Regions from separate parts of the Homo sapiens genome. Here all the other regions are linked to region 1. The links are contacts of gene promoters, found by promoter capture Hi-C in human tissues and cell types (Jung and others, 2019). All regions are on one chromosome and are shown on one strand. Each heading gives the region's core, a stretch centred on a gene start or on the middle of the fragment in contact. The rest is flanking DNA. Distances are from core to core; before and after follow the strand shown. Region 1 holds the start of ZNF845 (zinc finger protein 845). Region 2 has its middle 6.6 kb from the start of ZNF432. Region 3 holds the start of LOC124904763 (a long non-coding RNA gene).

The links. The method cuts DNA at HindIII sites, captures the fragments that hold promoters and counts their contacts. A contact is called where the count stands out against the background at its distance.
Region 2: a fragment that was not itself captured here is called in contact with the fragment with the promoter of ZNF845 in region 1 in 1 of the 25 tissues and cell types used here (pancreas).
Region 3: a fragment that was not itself captured here is called in contact with the fragment with the promoter of ZNF845 in region 1 in 1 of the 25 tissues and cell types used here (hippocampus).

The regions. Positions count from the first base shown.
Region 1 is chr19:53,332,499-53,337,217 of GRCh38, forward strand. It overlaps ZNF845 (zinc finger protein 845), which reads left to right and starts at 1,251. Exons shown (of 4, transcript NM_138374.3): 1 at 1,251-1,294. RefSeq lists enhancers at 367-1,231, 1,330-1,379, 1,650-1,739 and a silencer at 1,040-1,259. The HindIII fragment of the contact is 26,552 bases long and covers 1-4,719 here.
Region 2 is chr19:52,053,098-52,057,816 of GRCh38, forward strand. No RefSeq gene overlaps it. Among named protein-coding and RNA genes, the nearest start is that of ZNF432, 6.6 kb to the left of the region's middle. The HindIII fragment of the contact is 8,170 bases long and covers 1-4,719 here.
Region 3 is chr19:52,274,846-52,279,564 of GRCh38, forward strand. All of the region lies in intron 1 of ZNF766 (zinc finger protein 766), which reads left to right. LOC124904763 (a long non-coding RNA gene) reads right to left here and starts at 2,782. Exons shown (of 4, transcript XR_007067331.1): 1 at 2,693-2,782; 2 at 2,469-2,610. The HindIII fragment of the contact is 7,011 bases long and covers 1-4,719 here.

The DNA of each region.
Region 1 (4,719 bases), core at 1-2,500:
CAGTACCCGTATCTCGGTAGGAAATTAAATATTTCAAACATCAAATAATTCCAATGTAAATGTATGGATCTTTAAATAATTCTGAGCCTTGAAAGGAATGTGGTCATGCAAGCTGAGTCCAGTGGTATGCAGGCGCAACTTCTAAGAGTTTTCCTGGCCAGACGCGGTGGCTAACGCCTGTAATCCCAACACTTTGGGAGTCCGAAGCAGGTGGATCACTTGACGTCAGGAGTTCGAATCCAGCCTGGCCAACGTTGTGAAACCCAGTCTCTACTAAAAATACAAAACTATTAGCCAGGCTTGGTGGCGCGCGTCTGTAATCCCAGCTAGTTGGCAGGCTGAGGCAAGAGAACTACTTTAACCCGGGAGGTGAAGGTTGCAGTGAGCCGAGATCTCGCCACTGCACTCCAGCCTGGGTGACAGAGAAATACTCTGTCTCAAAAAAGAAAAGAAAAGAAAAGAAAAATCTAAATATAAAAATGAAAGTAATAGATCTCTTCCACAAATGTGCTGGGACAACTAACTGGATATCCACGTGAAAATGAATAATGTTGGATCCCTAACTCACAAAATCAAAAATTTTATTTAAAGAAATTTTAAAAAAGGAGAGAGAGAGAGACGAGGAAGGGAGCGCTGCCGGAGGAGGTGTTACTTTGTCGCCCAGGCTAACTTGGACCCCCCCCCCGGCTCAGCGATCCTCCTGCCACTGCTTCCTGAGTAGCTGGGACCTCAGGCTTTCGCCCCGCGCCCGCATCTCTGCTGTGTTTAAGCAGTAGGTGGTGACCTCACTCCTCCCTGGCCTGAGCACTCCGTCCCGCATCCCAGGGGGAGGCCCTAGGGAAATCTCTGAAGCTGAGGACAGGGTGGACTCTCCTTTCCCAGTGAATGGAGAATAGAAAGGGAGAGGATTTCTATTCTGTTCTGTGGGCCGTCAGCATGAAATCGTATGTTCCACCCAGGCAGGGCTTTGCATTTCACATTCTAGTTTGCATCCCCGTTTCAGACAATTCCAGGGCTTTTGAATCATGCCTCAGCCTTCCTGTCCGGTCTCGCCTCCAAAGCTCGAAAACAAGAGGCGCTGGGAGCGAGGTTGAGAGACGCACGGGTCCCACCCCGGCCCCGCCTTCTGCCAATTCTAAAGGGGAAGGTCTCTCCGCTTCGCGCCCCGCCCCTACCTCGCTCAGGCCCCGCCTACCTCCCCGCGGGTCCCGCCCAGGCCTGGCTTCTGTCCTGCGCGCGCAGATTCGCGCAAACCCGGAAGCGGATCGCATGGAGTGATGGTCCCACCGCAGCGGTGAGTTTTGCTCTGTGTTGTGTTAAGTCTGCGCTTCCCAAGTCCCCGGCGCTTCTGTACCTGGGACGTGGGGTCCCCATAGACCTGGAAATTCTCACCCGTGTTCCTTCACCTAGAGCAAATTTAGACGTCCTCGTCAGAGTCCAGGGGTCGCTTCCTTTTGGGTTTAAAGTCGCCCTGAGGATGGTCCCTTCCCGAATCTTTCTGCTATAGGGCAATGTATACACTTCCCATCGCGTAGTTTCCCTGCTCAAAACCTTTTTCTGACTCCTCCCGACCCGCACTTTTTAAAGTCCTTACCGCGAGGCGGATTCCCGCCCTTGGCGCCTCCCAGTCTTGTCTTAAGGCGCCGTCGCCCCCCACCTCCCTCCTCGTTCCAGGCCCTTATGCTCCCCAGGTCTCCCCACCGCAGTCACCGCTTACCCTGAGCCCGCGTTGGGGAGGTGCCCGGGGCTGTCCTATGACACCGGGTGTTCTTGCCTGCCCTGCACCAGCCCCTGGAAAATGCGCTCCTCCGGGATGCAGGCGTCTTACTCCAAAGCCCTCCTGTGATTGTGTTGGCCAAAGGGATCAGGAGACTGAGAGAGAGAGCAGTAGAAAACCTGAGACAGAGAAAAGAAGAATGAGAAAGACCATAACAGATGGCAAAGTAGAGGATGAGTGAGGGATTTGCCAAGAGAGAGCAAAAATGAAAAAAACAAAACAAAACAAAAAACAGCAGGAGGAGCAGATCCCAGGGAAAAAGAAAACAAGAGCTAGAGAGAGAAGGGGAGAATGAGAGATATGTACAGAATTAGGGAGGGAAGCACAGTAATGAAGAAAGGGGGGCTGGGCGCAGTGGCTCACGCCTGTAATCCTAGCACTTTAGGAGACTGGGGCAGAGGGATTGCTTGAGTCCAGGAGTTCAAGACCGGCCTGGGCAAAATAGTGAGACCCCCCCCCCCATCTCTGTCAAAAAAAAAAAAAATTTAACTGGGCGTGATGGTGCACACCTGTAATCCCAGCTGCTCTGGAGGCTGAGGCAGGAGGATCACTTGAGCCCAGGAGGTCCAGGCTGCAGTGAGCAGAGATCATGCCACTGCACTCCAGCCTGGTCAACAGAGCAGAGCCTGTCTCAAAAGATTAAAAGGGGTGGGGGACTTTGGGTTCAGATGAGTGGGTGAGTTCATTGGATATGATTAGTTGTGATATGTTGACTTCTGTTTATATAATCTAATAACTTAGAACTTGTTTAAATTATACAGATGATATTGAGAATTTTAAAATTCCTATCTATAAGACACATACATTCTGTAAATCTTGGCATTAGAGGTCAGCTTCCACTTGGAATCCCTATTCAGCCAGAGGGTAGTGACTTAATTCAATTGTGAGAGCCTCTCTTCCCTCTTCCCATGGTGAGGTAGGAAATGGGGCAGTGAAGTGGGAGAAAAAAATCACTTTCTGTTATTATGTAATAATTTTAATTTAATTAATTAATTTATAGTTTGAGACAGGGTCTGGCTCTGTCGCCCAGGCTGGGGTGCAGTGGTGTGATCTCCTCTAACTGCAGCCTCGACCTCCTAGGCTCAAGCGATCCTCTTACCTCAGCCTCCTGAGTAGCTGGGACCACAGGCGTGAGCCACCAAGTCCGGCTAGGTTTTGTATTTTTTTTTTGTAGAAATGGGGTTTCACTGTTTCCCAGGCTGGTCTCAATTCTGGCCTCAAAGGATCGTCCTGCCTTGGCCTCCCAAATTACTGGGATTACAGGTGGAATTACAGAGAGGAGCCACCGTGCCTGGCCTACATAGTCGTTTTTTGTTTTTTGTTTTTGTTTTTGTTTTTGTTTTTTTGAGATGGAATCTCACTCTTGTCCAGGATGGAGTGCAATGGCACAATCTCGGCTCGCTGCAATTTCCGCTTCCCAGGTTCAGACTGATTCTACTGCCTCAGCCTCCCAAGTAGCTGGGATTACAGGCATGAGCCACTGCATCCAGCTAATTTTGTGTTTTTAGTAGAGACGGGGTTTCTCCATGTTGGTCAGGCTGGTCTCAAACTCCCAACCTCAGATGATCCACCCGCCTTGGCCCCCCAAATGCTGGGATTACAGGCATGAGCCACCACGCCTGGCCCATAGTACTTTTTAAAAGGGACATCAGGGCGTAGTGGCTCATGCCTGTAATCCCAGCACTTTGGGAGGCGGAGGCAGGTGGATCACAAGGATCACAAGGTCAGGAATTCAAGACCAGCGTGACCAACATGGTGAAATCCCATTGCTCCTAAAAATTCAAAAATTAGTTGGGCATGGTGGCATGCACCTCTAATTCCAGCTACTTAGGAGGCTGAGGCAGGAGAATCACTTGAACCCAGGAGGCGGAGGTTGCAGTGAGCCAAGATTGCGCCACTGCATTCCATCCTGGGCGAGAGCGAGACTCCATCTCAAAAAAAAAAAAAAAAGGAACATCAAAGCTGGGCGTGGTGGCTCATGCCTGTAATCCCAGCACTTTGGGAGCCAATCACCTAAGGTCAGTAGTTTGAGATCATTCTGGCCAACATGGTGAAACCCTGTGTCTAGTAAAAATACTAAAAAAGTAAGCTGGGCATGGTGGCATGCATCTGTAGTTCCAGCTGCTCGGGAGCCTGAGGCATGAGAATCACATGAACTTGGGAGGTAGAGGTTGCAGTGAACCGAAATGGTACCACTGCACTGCAGCCTGGGGGGCAGAGCGAGGCTTCATCTCAAAAAAACAAACACCACCACCAAAAAATGAAAGCAAAAGGCACATCAAAAGTGCTTTTGTTCTCGTTGTGTAACATATTTTCTTTTTTTTCTTTCTGGTTCCTCTTCCTTCCTTTCTTTCTTTCTTTTTTTTTTTTTTTTTTTTGCAGTTTTACTTTGAGATAAATCTTAGTTTTAAATATTTCTTTTTTAATACATAATCACTTCTGAAAGATGCATTTGCAGCATCCTATAACCAGCTCACATTGTTCAGTTATTTTCCCATTGACATCTGAATTTGTTCGATTTTTTAAAAAACAATTTCCAAATAGTTTCTGTTTGAAATTAGTTGCGTCCAGTTCAGATCGAGGTCTGCATGCTTTCTAGTCTTTATTATTTATTGGAAACCTTTAACATCAAAATGTAGTTTAACGAGTTAGCCTGTTTTTCAGTTTTGTTGTCATTTGTTAAAATCTTGAGCTGTGAGCTATTAAGTGCATGTTTCCCTCAAGGCACCTCTGGTCCATGTGGACAAATGTTGAAAGCCCAACTCCTCACTGTGGCTCCATAGCCCTGTGTCCAGGGCCCCTGCCAGTGTCCAGCCTCCTCCTGGGAGCTTGCCCTCATCGCATGACTGTCTCTGCCCCAGTCATATTTGCTTTTCTCTTTTCCCAAACACTAAAACCCTTCCTGTCTCAGGTTGCTGTCCCTGCTCTTACCCTGTGTTCCT
Region 2 (4,719 bases), core at 887-3,386, 1.3 Mb before region 1:
ATAACAATATTAACCTTAAATGTAAATGGGCTAAATGCTCCAATTAAAAGACACAGACTGGCAAATTGGATAGAGTCAGGACCCATCAGTGTGCTGTATTCAGGAGACCCATCTCACGTGCAGACACACACATATGCTCAAAAAAAAAAAAAGGGATGGAGGAAGATCTACCAAGCAAATGGAAAACAAAAAAAAGCAGGGGTTGCAATCCTAGTCTCTGAGAAAACAGACTTTAAACCAACAAAGATCAAAAGAGACAAAGAAGGCCATTACATAATGGTAAAGGGATCAATTCAACAAGAAGAGCTAACTATCCTAAATATATATGCACCCAATACTGGAGCACCCAGATTCATAAAGCAAGTCCTTAGAGACCTATAAAGAGACTTAGACTCCCACACAATAATAATGGGAGACTTTAACTTGCCACTGTAAACATTAGACAGATCAACGAGACAGAAAGATAACAAGGATATCCAGGAATTGAACTCAGCTCTGCACCAAGTGGACCTAATAGACATCTACCGAACTCTCCACCTCAAATCAACAGAATATACATTTTTCCTAGCACCACATTGCACTTATTCCAAAATTGACCACATAGTTGGAAGTTAAGCACTCCTCAGCAAATGTAAAAGAACAGAACTTATAACAAACTGTCTCTCAGACCACAGTGCAATCAAACTAGAGCTCAGGATTAAGAAACTCACTCAAAACCGCTCAACTACATGGAAACTGAACAACCTGCTCCTGAATGACTACTGGGTACATAACGAAATGAAGGCAGAAATAAAGATGTTCTTTGAAACCAATGAGAACAAAGACACAACATACCAGAATCTCTTGACACAGTTAAAGCAGTGTATAGAGGGAAATTTATAGCACTAAATGCCCACAAGAGAAAGCAGAAAAGATCTAAAATTGACACCCTAACATCACAATTAAAAGAACTGGAGAAGCAAGAGCAAACACATTCAAAAGCTAGCAGAAGGCAAGAAATAACTAAGATCAGAGCAGAACTGACGGAGATACAGACATAAAAAACACTTCAAAAAATCAATGAATCCAGGAGCTGGTTTTTGAAAAGATCAACAAAATTGATAGACTGCTAGCAAAACTAATAAAGAAGAAAAGAGAGAAGAATCAAATAGACACAATAAAAAATGATAAAGGGGATATCACCACCGATCTCCAGAAATACAAACTACCATCAGAGAATACTATAAACACCTCTACGCAAATAAACTAGAAAACCTAGAAGAAATGGATAAATTCCTGGACACATACACCCTCCCAAGACTAAACCAGGAAGAAGTTGAATCCCTGAATAGACCAATAACAGGCTCTGAAATTGAGGCAATAATTAATAGCCTACCAACCAAAAAAAGTCCAGGACCAGACAGATTTACAGCTGAATTCTACCAGAGGTACAAAGAAGAGCTGGTACCATTCCTTCTGAAACTATTCCAATAAATAGAAAAAGAGGGAATCCTCCCTAACTCATTTTATGAGGCCAGCATCATCCTGATACCAAAGGCTGGCAGAGACACAACATAAAAATAGAATTTTAAACCAATATCCCTGATGAACATCGATGCAAAAATCCTCAATAAAATACTGGCAAATCAAATCCAGCAATACATCAAAAAGCTTATCCACCAAGATCAAGTTGGTGTCATCCCTGGGATGCAAGGCTGGTTCAACATACACAAATCAATAAACATAATCCATCACATAAACAGAACAAAAGGCAAAAACCACATGATTATCTCAATAGATGCAAAAAAGGCATTCGACAAAATTCAACAGCACTTCATGCTAAAAACTCTCAATAAACTAGGTATTGATGGGATGTATCTCAAAATAATAAGAGCTACTTATGACAAACCCACAGCCAATATCATACTGAATGGGCAAAAACTGGAAGCATTCCCTTTGAAAACTGGCACAAGACAGGGATGCCCTCTCTCACCACTCCTATTCAACATAGTGTTGGAAGTTCTGGCCAGGACAATCAAGCAGGAGAAAGAAATAAAGGGTATTCAATTAGGAAAAGAGGAAGTCAAATTGTCCCTGTTTGCAGATGACAAGATTGTATATTTAGAAATCCCATCGTCTCAGCCCAAAATCTCCTTAAGCTGATAAGCAACTTCAGCAATGTCTCAGGATACAAAATCAATGTGAAAAATCACAAGCATTCCTATACACCAACAACAGACAAACAGCCAAATCATGAGTGAACTCTCATTCATAATTGTTACAAAGAGAATAAAATACCTAGGAATCCAACTTATAAGGGATGTGAAGGACCTCTTCAAGGAGAACTACAAACCACTGCTCAACGAAATAAAAGAGGACACAAACAAATGGAAGAACATTCCATGCTCATGGATAGGAAGAATCAAGATCGTGAAAATGGCCATACTGCCCAAAGTAATTTATAGATTCAATACCATCCCCATCAAGCTACCAATGACTTTCTTCACAGAATTGGAAAAAACTACTTTAAAGTTCATATGGAACCAAAAAAGAGCCCATATTGCCAAGACAATCCTAAGCCAAAAGAACAAAGCTGGAGGCATCACGCTACCTGACTTCAAACTATACTACAAGGCTACAGTAACCAAAAGAGCACGATACTGGTACCAAAACAGAGATATAGACCAATGGAACAGAACAGAGCCCCCAGAAATAGTACCACACATGTACAACCATCTGATCTTTGACAAACATGACAAAAACAAGAAATGGGGAAAGGATTTCCTATTTAATAAATGGTGCTGGGAAAACTGGCTAGCCATATATAGAAAGCTGAAACTGGATCCCTTCCTTACACCTTATACAAAAATTAATTCAAGATGGATTAAAGACTTAAATGTTAGACCTAAAACCATAAAAACCCTAGAAAAAAACCTAGGCAATACCATTCAGGCCACAGGCATGGGCATGGACTTCATGACTAAAACACCAAAAGCAATGGCAACAAAAGCCAAAATTGACAAATGGGATCTAATTAAACTAAAGAGCTTCTGCACAGTAAAAGAGACTACCATCAGAGTGAACAGGCAACCTACAGAATGGGAGAAAATTTTTACAACCTACCCATCTGACAAAGGGCTAATATCTAGAATCTACAAAGAACTTAAACAAATTTACAAGAAAAAATCAAACAACCCTATCAAAAAGTGGGTGAAGGATATGAACAGACCCTTCTCAAAAGAAGACATTTATGCAGCCAACAGACACATGAAAAAATGCTCATCATCACTGGCCATCAGAGAAATGCAAATCAAAACCACAATGTGTTACAGGAAGGCAGGGACCCCAAACAGAGAGACCAGATGGAGCTGCGGCAAAGGAACATAAATTGTGAAGATTTCACTTTAATATGGACATTTATCAGTTCTCAAATAATACTTTTATAATTTCTTATGCCTGTCTTTACTGTAATATCTTAATCCTGTTATCTTCATAAGCTGAGGATGTACGTCACCTCAGGACCACTGTGATAATTGTGTTAACAGTGGTTCTGCTTTTGCCCTTTGCCCTGTGATCTTTGTTGGACCCATATCAGTGGTTCTACTTTTGCCCTTTGCCCTTTTCCCTCAGAAAGATGTAATCTTTGTTAGACCCTTATCAGTGGTTCTGCTTTTTGCTCTTTGAAGCATGTGATCTTTGTACCTACTCTCTGTTCTTACACCCCCTCCCCTTTTGAAACCCTTAAAAAAAAAACTTACTGGTCTGAGACTCAGGCGGGCATCACAGTCCTACCGATATGTGATGTCACCCCTGGAGGCCCAGCTGTAAAATTCCTCTCTTTGTATTGTCTTTATTTCTCAGCCGGCTGACACTTATGGAAAATAGAAAGAAACTACATTGAAATATTGGGGGCAGGTTCCCCCAATAACAACGAGATACCATCTCACACCAGTTAAAATGGTGATCATTAAAAAGTCAGGAAACAACAGGTGCTGGAGAGGATGTGGAGAAATATGAACACTTTTACACTGTTTGTGGGACTGTAAACTAGTTCAACCATTGTGGAAGACAGTGTGGCGATTCCTCAAGGATCTAGAACTAGAAATACCACTTGACCCAGCCATCCCATTACTGGGTATATACCCAAAGGATTATAAATCATGCTGCTATAAAGACACATGTCCATGTATGTTTATCGCGGCACTATTCACAATAGCAAAGACTTGGAACCAACCCAAATGTCCATCAATGATAGACTGGATTAAGAAAATGTGGCACATATACACCATGGAATACTATGCAGCCATAAGAAAGGATGAGTTCATATCCTTTGTAGGGACATGGATGAAGCTGGAAACCATCATTCTGAACAAACTATCACAAGGACAGAAAGCCAAACACCACAGGTTCTCACTCGTAAGTGAGAACTGAACAATGAGAACACTTGGACACAGGGTGGAGAACATCACATACCAGGGCCTGTCGTGGGGTGAGGGGAGTGGGGAGGGATAGCATTAGGAAAGATACCTAATGTAAATGACGAGTTAGTGGGTGCAGCACACCAACATGGCAAATGTATACATATGTAACAAACCTGTACATTGTGCACATGTACCCTAGAACTTAAAGTATAATAAAAAAAATTAAAAAATAAAAGATTAATGGGCCAGGGTTGTGGCTCATGTCTGTAATCCCAGCACTTTGGGAGGCTGAGGCAGGTGGATCAACTGGGGTCAGTAG
Region 3 (4,719 bases), core at 962-3,461, 1.1 Mb before region 1:
AGGAAACTGAAGGAGAAAAAGAAAGTACTCTCAAGGCAATTCACAGTTAAAGATATAGCAGAAGCTTTTGCAGACCTTGACAAGCTCCTTAAAAGGTTTGAAAACATAGGCACCAACACCTAAAGATTTTCATTAATAGAAAGGAGCGTCCATGATGCATTATCCGCTCATAAGAACATTTAGGAAGACAAAAGAAACAAAGCAAGCAAACCACCATGGACGTATTTCTGAAAGGAGTGACGCCTCTAGAAGAGGCTCAGGCAGGTCCTTCAGGAGGCGTCTGGGAGAAACCATTGTTACCATAGGAGGACTTTCTGGTGGGAGAAGATGTGGCACTGGAAGACAGTGACACTGATGGTCCTGACCCTGTGCAGGCCTAGGCTGATGTGTGTGTTTGTGTCTTAGTTGTTGACAAAAATGTTTAAAAAGGTTAAAAAAAAATTAAAAACAAGAAAAAGTTTAGAGAATTAAGGTACAAAGATAAAATATTTTTGTATAGCTGTACAACATGTTTGTGTTTTAAGCTGTTATTGCAAAAGAATCAAAAAGTTAAATTTAAAAGTTTATACAGTAAAACAGTTGGAATAAGTAAGCTTAGTTTATTACGGAAGAAAAAAGTATTTTTTGTGAAGTTAGTGCAGCCTAAATGTGCAGTGTTTATAAAGCCTGTAGTAGTGTACAGTCATGTCCTAGACCTTCACATTCATTCATCACTCACTCACTCACCCACAGCAATTTCCAGTCCTCCAAGCTCCATTCATGGTAAGTGCCCTAGACAAGTGTACCATTTTTTAAACTCTTATACCATATGACTACTATATTTTTTCTTTCTTTTTTTTTTTTTTTTTGAGACAGAATCTCACTCTGTCACCCAGGCCGGAGTGCAGTGCAGTGGTGTAATCCTGGCTCACTGCAACCTCCGCCTCCTGGGTTCAAGTGATTCTCCTGCCTCAGCCTCCCGAGTAGCTGGGATTACAGGCACCCACTTTCATGCCTAGCTAATTTTTGTGTTTTTAGTAGAGACGGGGTTTCCCCATGTTAGCCAGGCTGGTCTCGAACTCCTGACCTCAGATGATCCACCTGCCTTGGTCTCCCAAAGTGTTGGGATTAGAGGCATGAGCCGCCGTGCCTGGCCTTACTGTACCTTTTCTATATTTAGATATGTTTTGACTTACGAGTACTTACCGTTGTTACAGTTGACTATAGTATTCAGGACATAGCATGCCCTACAGGTTTTTAGCAGTAGGCTGTATTATATATACCAGATGTGTAGTAGGCTATGCTATCTTGGTTTGTGTAAGTTCCCTCTGTAATGAAATGGTCTGAAAATGCGTTTCTCAGAACATGTCCCTGTTATTAAGCGATGCGTGACTGCATTTGCATGTAACCTATGCACATCCTCTGCACCCTCCCATATACTGTAAACATCTGATTACTGGTAATACCTAATTAAATATAAATGCTATGTAAATGCTTGTTATACTGGGTTGTTTTCTTGTATTATTTTTATTGTATTGCTATTTTATATTGGTATATTGCTTCCTTTTGTCTTTTTTAAATTATTTAAGTCTGTAATTGGTTGAATCCATGGATACAGACCCCATGCACTGTATACTCTGTCTGCCCATCAATCTGTTAATAGTCTTCTTTTTTGTTTTGTTTTGTTTTGTTTTTAATAGTAGTCTTTTTGATCAGATCCAATTTTGTGGTACCTCATTGGTTTTGTTTAAGTGATCCTTATTTTACTTAACATGCCCCCCAAGCACATGAGCATTGATGTTGGCAATTTGGATATGTCAGTGAGAATCTGTCACAGGCATCCTTTAAGTGGAGTAAATAGGGTTCAGTACTGTTCCAAGTTTCATTCACTCAGGGTTTTGCAACGTATCCCCTTGGATAAAGGGATTTTACTGTATTCTGTATCCAGCATTGAGCACCGAAGCCGTGTTCTCATTTCTGAAGGCTGAGTTCAGCCTCTGATTCACAAAGAGGTGAGGGGGTGCTGTGCTCTGCATGGGGTTTGGTCAGAGCCAGGTCTGTGCCCTGAAGGGGAGCTTAGTCCAGCCCAGCTCCCCACTGCTGCAGTGTGTGTGTGGGCTTCTCCAGGAGGGGAGCGGGTTCTGAAGAAAGGGGCCAAAAGCTCACTTGTTCTTCCTGTAGGAGTTTATTGTCCCGGCATCAACTCTGATGCAGTGGGCAGCAGAGGACCGTATTTCCACAGGGTGAGGTCTTCCCTGCGTGTGTGGTTGTGGCACAGGAAGAAAGTATGTTGATTCTAAACCCTAAACAGCATATTTTTGACATTCAGGATTGACTTCTAAAGAGTCATGTTGGCCGGGCGCGGGGGCTCATACCTGTAATCCCGGCACTTTGGGAGGCCGAGACGGGCAGATCACGAGGTCAGGAGATCAAGACCATCCTGGCTAACACGGTGAAACCCCGTCTCTACTACGAATACAAAAAATTACCTGGGCGTGTTGGCGGGCACCTGTAGTCCCAGCTACTCAGGAGGCTGAGGCAGGAGAATGGTGTGAACCCGGGAGGCGGAGCTTGCAGTGAGCTGAGATCGGGCCACGGCACTCCAGCCTGGGTGACAGAGTGAGACTCCGTCTCAAAAAAAAACAAAAAAAGTCATGTTATGTGAAGGAGAAGCCCAGAAGAGGAAAGCAGAGGAGTCAGGCATGCCACTTACTCAGGTAAAGTGATATTCTCAGTAGATTGTTCTGTTTCTTATTTCTTCCTGAAATGCCGGGTGCTGGAGTTGAGAATCTTCTCTGAGTCTGAAGCATCCTGCCTGACAGGTTTGCTCACACTCACCCATGCCTTCCTTCAGTCCCTCTCATCTCGCTTAGATTCCATCTCTTGTGACCCAGTGACATGAACTTGGGAAGAGGCTGCACTGGGCGTGATCCTGGGAAGGGCTCACACCCAGACGTGGGTGGAGACGGGGTGAGGGCCCCGTGGTGTCAGTGCTGTTGGGCAGCAGGGATTGTTCAGGGGCCACATCTGGATGCTCTGTCAGCTCTCTGTGGACCAGGATTAGAGAAGCTGCCCACAGAAATCACCTATTAATGTGCACAAGTACCTGGTAAATTCTGCAATAAAAATTCAGGAAATCTTTTCTGCCTTTTTTTTTTTTTTTTGGAGACAAGAGTCTTGCTCTGTCGTCCAGGCTGGCATACAGTGGTGCAATCTTGGCTCACTGCAACCTCTACCTCCCAGGCTCAAGCAGTCCTCCCACCTCAGCCTCTTGAGTAGCTGGGACCACAAATGTGTACCACCACGCCCGGCAATTTTTTGAATTTTTGGTAGAGATGGGGTTTCACCATCTCCACCCACCTCAGCCTCCCAAAGTGTTGGGATTACAGGCGTGAGCCATCACGCCAGGCCTTTTCTGACTTTTAGTAATAGCCATTCTGACTAATGAGATGGTATCTCATTGTGGTTTTGATTTGCATTTCTCTAATGATCAGTGATACTGAGCTTTTTTTCCATATGCTTGTTGGCTACATGTATGTCTACTTTTGAGAGGTGTCTGTTCATGTCCCTTGCCCACTTTTTTCGTTTGTTTGTTTGAGATGGAATTTCGCTGTTGTCGCCCAGGCTGGAGTGCAATGGTGTGATCTCAGTTCACTGCAACCTCTGCCTCCCGGGTTCAAGCAATTCTCCTGCCTCAGCCTCCCGAGTAGCTGGGACTACAGGCCCCTGCCAGCACACTCAGCTAATTGTTGTATTTTCAGTAGAGACGGAGCTTCACCATGGTGGCCAGGCTGGTCTCGGAACTTCTGATGTCAGGTGATCCAACTGCCTCAGCCTCCCAAAGTGCTGGGATTATAGGCATGAGCCACCGCACCTGGCCCTTTGCCCACTTTTTAATGGGGTTTTCTCTTGTAAATTTGCTTAAGTTCCTTGTAGATGCTGGATATTAGACCTTTGTTAGATGCATAGTTCGCAAAAATTTTCTCCCATTCTGTAGGTTGTCTGCTCACTCCGTTGATAGTTTCTTTTGCTGTGCAGAAGCTCTTAAAGTTAATTGGATATCACTTGTCAATTGTTGTTTTTGTTATGATTGCTTTTGGTGTCTTTGTCATGAAATCTTTGCCCATTCCTGTGTCCAGGATGGTATTGCCTAAGTTGTCTTCCAAGGTTTTTATAGTTTGGGGTTTTACACTGAAGTCTTTAATCCATCTTGAGTTGATTTTTGTATATGGTATAAGGAAGGGGTCCAGCTTCAATCTTCTGCATGTGGCTAGCTGGTTATCCAGCACCGTTTATGAAATAGGGAGTCTTTTCCCCATTGCTTGTTTTTGTCAGCTTTGTCAAAGATCAGTTGGTTGTAGATGCACGGCCTTATTTCTGGGCTGACTATTCTGTTCCATTGGTCTTTGTGCCTGTTTTTGTACCAGTACCATGTTGTTTTGGTTACTGTAGCCTTGTGGTATAGTTTGAAGTTGGATAACTTGATGCCTCCAGCTTTGTTCTTTTTGCTCAGGATTGCCTTGGCTATTTAGGCTCTTTTTTGATTGCATATGAATTTTAAAATAGTTTTTTCTAGTTCTGCAAAGAACGTCATTAGGATTAGCTTTCAATCTGTAAATTCTTTGGGCAGTATGGTCATTTTAATTATATCGATTCTTCTTATCCGTGAGCATGGGATGTTTTTCTGTTTGTGTCTTCTCTGATTTCTTTGAGCAGTGGTTTGTAATTCTCACTAGAGAA